Linked DNA regions of Homo sapiens: region 2 is linked to region 1. Evidence: promoter capture Hi-C in human tissues and cell types (Jung and others, 2019). All regions are on one chromosome and are shown on one strand. Each heading gives the region's core, a stretch centred on a gene start or on the middle of the fragment in contact. The rest is flanking DNA. Distances are from core to core; before and after follow the strand shown.

Region 1 (3,804 bases), core at 370-2,869:
ACCTCTGAACTTAAAAGATGTAAGGAAAAAAAAAAAAAGGAAGAACTTTGGAGGCAGAGATTTTCCCAGGGTCTGCTGGCCTAGTGGGGTGCCAGGCCCTCCTTTGCTGAGCCTAAGCAAAGTACTTAGCTGAACTTGTTCTCAATTCTGATCACTAGTAGTCTTCCTATGCCCCCAAGAGGCTGCTGTGCTTTATGGTAAACTTTGCATGTCAACACCTTCTTCATGTCCCTCTCATAGGGGTGGCAAAATATGCCTGACGGATCATTTCAAACCTTTGTGGGCCAGGAATGTGCCCAAATTTGGACTAGCTCATCTCATGGCTCTGGGGGTAAGTTTTGTGTATTTGGCATAAAAGGAGAAAGAGGGACTTAGGCCCTGAGCAGTACAAGAAAAGCAGCTAAGAATAAAAGGAATAACAGTGATGTCCCTTAAGCATGTTCCCCCAGAATCTGTCTCCAGGAAGGAGCTTCTAATGGAACAAGAAGCATTGACTGGTAGTAATCTCACAGGATTTTCCTTGTATTGCAGCTGGGTCCATGGCTGGCAGTGGAAATCCCTGATCTGATTCAGAAGGGCGTCATCCAACACAAAGAGAAATGCAACCAATGAAGAATCAAGCCACTGAGGCAGGGCAGAGGGACCTTTGATAGGCTACGATACTATTTTCCTGTGCATCACACTTAACTCATCTAACTGCTTCCCCGGACACCCTCCACCTCTAGTTGTTACTAAGTAGCTGCAGTAGGCATTGCTGGGGAAGAAACAAACACACACCAAACAGTACTGCTACTTAGTTTCTAAGGCTGCACAGGGAAGGGAAAGACTGGGCTTTGGACAATCTAGAGGTAATTTATATCCGCCCCCAGGTGGAGCAACATGCGATTCTGGAGGCACGGGGGTAACTGAAAGTGAGTACATATAGTCTTTCTGGTTTCTGGAGATAACCCATCAATAAAAGCTGCTTCCTCTGGTAGCCTGTGGTTCTCATTGGGAGCTGTTAACAGAGGGCAAGTGGGCTGAAACCTGAGGCACATGAACAGCTACGCCGGGTTGGGTTGGGAAAGAGTCGGAAATAGGGGATGCTCTGGTCAGGAGTGGGAATGAAATGTTGACTGTTCCCCCTGCTGCTCAGATCTACCTTTGTCCTTTAGTGGTGAGCCATGCTTTGCCCTACCGTGTTAGCCTGCAAGAAGTGGTTTTGCCGGACCAGCACTTCCCGCCCTCCAGGGATCTTCCCAGCCCTCTGTGAAGTGCTAGATGCTTCTCCACTGGTCTGCGGGCTGGACCCAGGCCTGCAGTTTGCCATACTTGCGCCCCTGCTGTTTGGGAAGGATCTGTGCTGTAAGCCTCGCGGCCATACTACGACTGTCAGATCTCCATCCCTATGGGCTATAGGATGGGGCGACGGCACCCTATACCTCAGGGACTTGCTTTGGAGTCATGGATTAAAGACCTCTCTGGGCAGCGTTGAGAACCAGCGACCCTAAACTTGGCTGCGTTTCCATGGTGTCGATCGCGGAGCCGTGGGGGCGGGCTCACGCAAGCGCCAAGGGACCGGTGGGAGGAGTTCGGGTGTGGATGCGCAGGCGCTTTGAGAGACGGTGAAGCCGGTGGCCGGTGGCCGGGCGGGACCAACAAAGATGGCGGCGGCCCCTGCGGCGGGAGCGATCTGGGCAACGGCTGCGGCTAAAGCTGCAGCCGGGCCCACGGGGGGGCTGCACGGGGGTAGTAGGGGGTGGCCCTGAACTGGGGCCTGGCCCTGGCTGGCCTCTCCCGCCGCCTCACTGGGGGACAGGTACGGGCCGGGGCGTTATGGCATGGCGGGGTGTGGGGGGGCGCAGAGGGAAGACTGCTCCAGACCCGAGAGGACACTCTCCACAAAGGCGCGTGGGGCCCGGCGGGGCCTGGGAGAACTGGGCTGGAGGGACAGCATCCCTGGACCGCGGGGAATACGCCGCCGGATTCCGTAGCCAATCAGCGGTCTCGGCCTTTCTGCCCTCGAGGGGGGCGGACCCGGCTAAAGCCCTGCTGTGGTGGGAGAAGTGCAGAGATTAAGGGTCAAGGAGTTGTTCGTCCTCCATCCCCGACTACTGCTTTCTGAACCTCGACACCATGTCGGAGGTCGGAGGTGGGGGAGGGAATGGATCGTAAGTCACCCATATAGTCTGCTTCATTTGCAGCCCAGAGAGGCAGGGATTCGAGGATGGAGGGCTGTCTTTTGGGCTGTTATTCTTGCATCTACACTACCATTTGGCTAGGGTCTTAAGTGACCCGAGGCACATCCTACTTTACTAGCCGGGTATGGGGTCCCATGTTACGTTAGAGCCGAGATAGGAGTTATCACTGGCTTTTCAGTAAAGATGTGTTCTGCAGGGAGGGGTCGGGAGTATAGAAAGGGTCAAAGCCATGGGCTGCTTATCTTTCATTCATTTGTTTACCCAATAGATACTAAGTATTTACTTTGTACCAAACACGATGCCAGGTACTGGGGATACGATGGCTGATTCGATAGATCTGGTTCCTGCCCTCAGTGCGTATACTGCTCCCCACTTTCGTTGATGTGGTAGTGGTGATGACTGAGCCAACCACCTAATGTGGAAATGAGAGGACAGCAAGATTGTGGGTATGGAATGGGGCAAAGCAATAAGGGAAAATTAGTGTGGCAGGGTTCAGTACAGCAGCCTGGGTTCCCATTTCCCCCCATATTCAAATGCTGACACTCTCTTCTCCTCCCAGGTCCAGCCTGTGGTGTCCACAATGCCCCAGGCCTCTGAGCACCGCCTGGGCCGTACCCGAGAGCCACCTGTTAATATCCAGCCCCGAGTGGGATCCAAGCTACCATTTGCCCCCAGGGCCCGCAGCAAGGAGCGCAGAAACCCAGCCTCTGGGCCAAACCCCATGTTACGACCTCTGCCTCCCCGGCCAGGTCTGCCTGATGAACGGCTCAAGAAACTGGAGCTGGGACGGGGACGGACCTCAGGCCCTCGTCCCAGAGGCCCCCTTCGAGCAGATCATGGGGTTCCCCTGCCTGGCTCACCACCCCCAACAGTGGCTTTGCCTCTCCCATCTCGGACCAACTTAGCCCGTTCCAAGTCTGTGAGCAGTGGGGACTTGCGTCCAATGGGGATTGCCTTGGGAGGGCACCGTGGCACCGGAGAGCTTGGGGCTGCACTGAGCCGCTTGGCCCTCCGGCCTGAGCCACCCACTTTGAGACGTAGCACTTCTCTCCGCCGCCTAGGGGGCTTTCCTGGACCCCCTACCCTGTTCAGCATACGGACAGAGCCCCCTGCTTCCCATGGCTCCTTCCACATGATATCCGCCCGGTCCTCTGAGCCTTTCTACTCTGATGACAAGATGGTGAGGACTTGCCACACACATGGCCTTCATGCCCATGTTCCTCTGTGCTTTCCTGCCATCCTCTGCCTTTTCTGTCCCCCATTTCCCTGAAGTTCCTTTCTCAGCCCTTCATTACAGCAGTTTGGACATGCCTCTCCCTTGCTTAAATACCCTTGAGCCTCCTAGACCCTTTTTTGGGTTGTTGGTGACTCTTCAGCATGGTGTGCCATTTCGGTCCCCAGGGGATTACCCCAACTATTTAGAATTCTTCTTTGGGTCCCCAGGCCCTTCCTTTCCCTTGCTTGCACCTTCTCTACTGGGACTCTGCCTAGGCCTAATTAATCTCTGGAGCTAAAGAGAGGCAGGCACAGAACATCTTAGCAAACGTGGTTGCACATTTTCTGAGCTAAGTAAGCTAGGCTGATTGCAATTGGAGCCAGCAGGAGAAGGGCAAGAAGGGGCCAC
Region 2 (4,812 bases), core at 1,713-4,212, 400 kb before region 1:
CTACTTTCATGAGCAGTTGTAGCAGGCCTGACCACAGATTCCCAGAGGGCCAGGTGTGGATCCACAGGACTTGAAGGTCAAAGTTCACAAAGATGAAGAATCAGGGTAGCTGACCATGTTTGGCAGATACTATAATGGAGACACAGAAGTGTGCATGGCCCAAGGACAAGGACCTCCAGCCAGGCTTCATTTATGCACTTGTGCTGCAAAAGAAAAGTCTAGGTTTTAAGGCTGTGCCAGAACCCATCCCAATAAAGAGACCGAGTCTGAAGTCACATTGTAAATCTAGTGTAGGAGACTTGGAGTCAGGCAGTGAGACTGGTGGGGCACGGGGGGCAGTGGGTACTTGTAAACCTTTAAAGATGGTTAATTCATTCAATAGATATTTATTAAGAACCTATGCGGCCCGGCATGGTGGCTCACACCTGTAATCCCAGCACTTTGGGAGGCCAAGGTGGGTGGGTCATCTGAGGTCAGGAGTTCAAGACCAGCCTGGCCAACATGGTGAAACCCCATCTCTACTAAAGATACAAAAATTTGCTGAGCGTGGTGGTGTGCACCTGTAATCCCAGCTACTCGAGAGGCCAAGGCATGAGAATCGCTTGAACCTGGGAGGTGGAGGTTGCAGTGAGCTGAGATGGCACCACTGCACTCCGGCCTAGGCAACGAGAGCAAAACTCCAATACAAACAAACAAACAAACACCTGTGCTAGGTCAGTCTGGCACGTAAGATGAACATCCCTACCAATACAGAGCTCACCATCTCTTATACTTAAGTGAAAAACATGGGGAAGGGGAAAGGGGAATGGCTGCTTTTGATATGTTCCCTGACACATATCTTGAATGGAGACCTCCCTACCAAGTGATGAAAGTGTTGAAAAACTTAATAACAAATGCTTGTTGGGCAAGAATGGGATTGAGGATTATCTTCTCTCAGAAAGGCATTGTGAAGGAATTGAGCCAGATCTCTCTCCCTACTGCAAAACCCTATTGTAGTAAAAAAGTCTTCTTTACTATCTTAATAAAACAGATATTGTGAGATTCACATACAAAAAGATGCATTATTTTGCTATTTGCAATAGTGAAATTCTGGAAACTGCCAAAGAAACTGACCACCACAGGTGAAGGTCTGTTCATACATAGACATTAAGAATTATGGGTTAGGCCGGGAGCAGTGGCTCACGCCTGTAATCCCAGCACTTTGGGAGGCCGAGGCAGGTGGATTACTTGAGGTCAGGAGTTCAAGAACAGCCTGGCCAACATGATGAAACCCCGTCTCTACTAAAAATACAAAAAATATTAGCCGGGCATGGTGGTGAGCCCCTGTAATCCCAGCTTCTTGGGAGGCAGAGGGAGGAGAATTGCTTGAACCCAGGACGGGGAGGTTGCAGTGAGCCAAGATCGCGCCACTGCACTCCAGCCTAGGCGACAGAGCAAGACTCCATCTCAAAAAAAGAATTATGGGTTATACTCAGCATCATGAAATATACCTGTGTAACCTACACATGTAGCTTCTGAATCAAAAATAAAATTAAAAATAACAAATTTTTAGCATGTGCCTGTGGTCCCAGCTACTTGGGAGGCTGAGGCAGGAGGATCTCTTGAACCCGGGAGGTGGAGGTTGCAGTGAGCCGAGATCGCACCACTGCACTCCAGCCTGGATGATAGAGTGAGATTCTGTCTCAAAAAAAAAAAAAAATTGTTTAAAAAAAACTATGGGTTGGCCAGGAGTGGTGGCTCATGTCGGTAATCCCAGCACTTTGGGAGGCTGAAGTAGGAGGATCACTTGACCTCAGGAGTTCAAGACCACCCTAGGCAACTTAGCAAAGCCCCATCTCTACAAAAAAATACAAAAATTAGCCAGGCATGGTGGTGCATGCCTGTAGTCCCAGCTACTCAGGAAGGAGCTGAAGAGGGAGGGTCGCTTGAGCCTGGTAGGTTGAGGCTGCAGTGAGCTATAATTGTGCTACTGCACTCCAGCCTGGGCAACAGAGTGAGACTCTGACTCACAAAACAACAACAACACAACAACTATGGGTTTTCAAGTTAGAAAATGTTATGACATCACAAATATAAAAAGTAGAATGCAAATTTAATGTGCTATATGATTACAGCTGTGTTTTAGAAAAAATCTCTACAGGGAAAAATTTGGAAGAAAAAACATCAAAATAGTAACACCAGTTGTTTAGGGAGGGTGAAAGCTTAGGTGGCTTGGTTTTTTCCTATTTTCATTCATTTTCTGAATATTCCTCAATGAGAAAGTATGTATTGCATAATAGAGTAGAGGAAATTTTAAATAGGTGCTCAGTGAGAAAAACGAGGCACTACTCACTACGTGGGGTTGAGGGGAAAGTCTGAGACCCTCATGGTAAGGGTGTGGGGGAGGATGGAAAGACCTCCTCGAGTGAGAATGGGTGGGGAGAAAGGAGAAACCCTCCACATAATGACAGAGGAGAAGATGACTTTCCCTCAGAGAGGGCTGCTGGAGGCTGAGGGGAGCTTCACAGTGTGTGAAGACAGAGGCGTGGAGAGGGGGATGCTGGGACTGAGGATGCATCTGTTCTGCCTTCCCCTCTCTCCTCAGAACCCATTCAGATGATAAATAATTAGGGTTAATCATACTTTGGGGTTTTTTAAACCAGTGACTGAAACAGGACCTAGGGAGACCAATAGATCTGGTCTCTGGACACTCAATAAATTCTGTCCCAAAGCTAGTTGCAGAAAGAAGCTTCCCCTCATGAGTTCAACCAGTAGGCAAAGGAAACCACCAGCTCTTCAGGGTGAGAAGTCACACCACCTCATAGCCCCATTACATGCAGCCTCCAGAACTGTGTGGTTTGCAACTTGTGAGGTGCAAATAACAAATTCGTAAACATTGAAACCTTGGTGGAAAGTAAAGAAGGTATCTGTACCATTTCAGTAAGGCTTTCACTCATTCATTTGATCATGTATGCATTCATTCATTTATTCATTCAGCAGTACTTATTGAGCACCAGTAAGTGCTGGACATTATGCTGAACTCAGGGAATACAGCAGTGGGCCACAACAGAGGTCTCTGCCCTCAGGGTGCTTACATTCTAATGACAGAGGCCAACACTCAAATATCCTTTAAATAACATGGTTGCAGTGATGACTGCTATGAAAGAGAGGTGTGTGGAGCCAAGAATGGCAAATTTTCCTGTGGTCAGAGACAGTATCTCCAAAGTGATGAAGACTGAGCTGAGATCGGAAGATGAGTAGGAGCTACTTACAAGAAGTGGGAAGGGAAAATAAAACCCTTCTAGCCAGAGGTGCAAAGGCCTTGTGGTGAGAGGACCTAAAAGAACGAAAGTCAGTGTGGCCAGCAGAGAGAGTTGCACTTTTAAAATTTCATTAGTTGCAGTATGGGAAACAGATTGTAGGGGGTCAAGACTGGATGTAGGCAAACTGAGTCAGAAGGCTCTTACCGTTATCCAGGAGAGAGGTGATGGTAGGTTGGACAAGCATAGTAGGATGCAGAGAGAGGGAAGGATGCTCTCAAGAGGTATCTAAGGGATAAGGAGGTTCCTGCTTTCAGTACTGTCTTGGGAATGTGTGCTGATCTGGAAAAGGAGGTGGGAAGATGGGCCTTTGCTTTTGATAGCCTCTTGGGACTAGAAGGACAAAGTTTGGAGTCTGGGGCTACCAAGGTTAGAGAACTGGTAAATCCCTCATCTTTTTGACTTGGGACCCCAAAAGACTTACCCTAGGAGACTTATCCTTCTTGTAAACAAGAAGTACACCAGTTTTAATTCATCTATGGGGCCAAGAAAATCTCAAAACTGGTATTAGATTAAAGAGATCCAAGCTTACGAGTGCCCACAAGTACCTTACAGAAGCAAACAAAGACCATCACTAAAAGAAAATAACATTCTTAGGCCTCACAATTTTCCTACAAATAATTTTTCATAAGCAATGTTCATCATATGTTCAGAGATATCCAGGCCCATGAGGAGGATCCAGGCCCATGGGGATCATCCTCCTCCATGAGGAGACCCATGAGCAAGACCCTCCTGGTGGGGACAGCCTATCACAGACTGCAGCCCAGGATGCAGCCCGGCCCACCTCCCTCTCATTTCATCCCAAGAAGATGGAAGGAGGAACTTCCAGCCTCCTCAGTTCATGTACTTGTAGACAGACTTTAAAGATGTTTGGAGTTCTGACTATAGTCCTAAGCATACTCTTTATTGCAATCTGTCAAGAACATAGCCAGCAACAGGGAAGAGTTGATAAACCATAACATGATCATTTATAATATTTAATGTTTAGTACAGTCACAATTGCCAATCATTGTTCTAAATAATACATATATATATGTGTGCATGTATATACATATGTACATTTATTTAATCTTCATAACAAACATAACCATTTTATAGATGAGGTAGTTGAGACCAAGATTGTCTTTTGTCTAATTGGGTTTTGTGGGTTGTTTTGTTTTGTTTTGTTTTGTTTTGTTTTGTTCGGCTCATATGTATTACTGCTCTAGGCAGTATTAATTAATTGATTAATTTATTTAAAATTTATTATTTTAAAATAAATGCTGGTACTGCTTGTCTTTACTAATTATAAAAGTTATTTTTTCCTGCAATTAAAACTTATTATGCGTCTACAATGTGCTCCCCATACTTCTAAGAGCTCACAATCAAGTGGGAGACAGGGATATCAACAGACATTACAAGTTAAAATGGTAGGTAAGAAAATAAAGGCATATAAGACATATAGGGGGTTGTATTACTCATGGTTTTCCTGAGAAATAGAACCAATAGATTATTTGTAAATATATATAAAAGG

What was found. Contacts are between HindIII fragments. The study calls those that stand out against the background at their distance.
Region 2: a contact is called between a fragment that was not itself captured here and the fragment with the promoter of USP21 in region 1, in 1 of the 25 tissues and cell types used here (mesendoderm cells).

What each region holds. Positions count from the first base shown.
Region 1 is chr1:161,157,881-161,161,684 of GRCh38, forward strand. It overlaps USP21 (ubiquitin specific peptidase 21), which reads left to right and starts at 1,620. Exons shown (of 14, transcript NM_001014443.3): 1 at 1,620-1,798; 2 at 2,486-2,626; 3 at 2,740-3,360. The coding sequence starts at 2,761. UFC1 (ubiquitin-fold modifier conjugating enzyme 1) reads left to right here. Exons shown (of 6, transcript NM_016406.4): 5 at 241-331; 6 at 532-976. The coding sequence ends at 612. RefSeq lists a silencer at 1,699-1,848. The HindIII fragment of the contact is 22,288 bases long and covers 67-3,804 here.
Region 2 is chr1:160,753,767-160,758,578 of GRCh38, forward strand. It overlaps SLAMF7 (SLAM family member 7), which reads left to right. Exons shown (of 7, transcript NM_021181.5): 7 at 1-1,055. Among named protein-coding and RNA genes, the nearest start is that of SLAMF7, 17 kb to the left of the region's middle. RefSeq lists an enhancer at 1,726-1,775 and a silencer at 3,326-3,395. The HindIII fragment of the contact is 5,235 bases long and covers 346-4,812 here.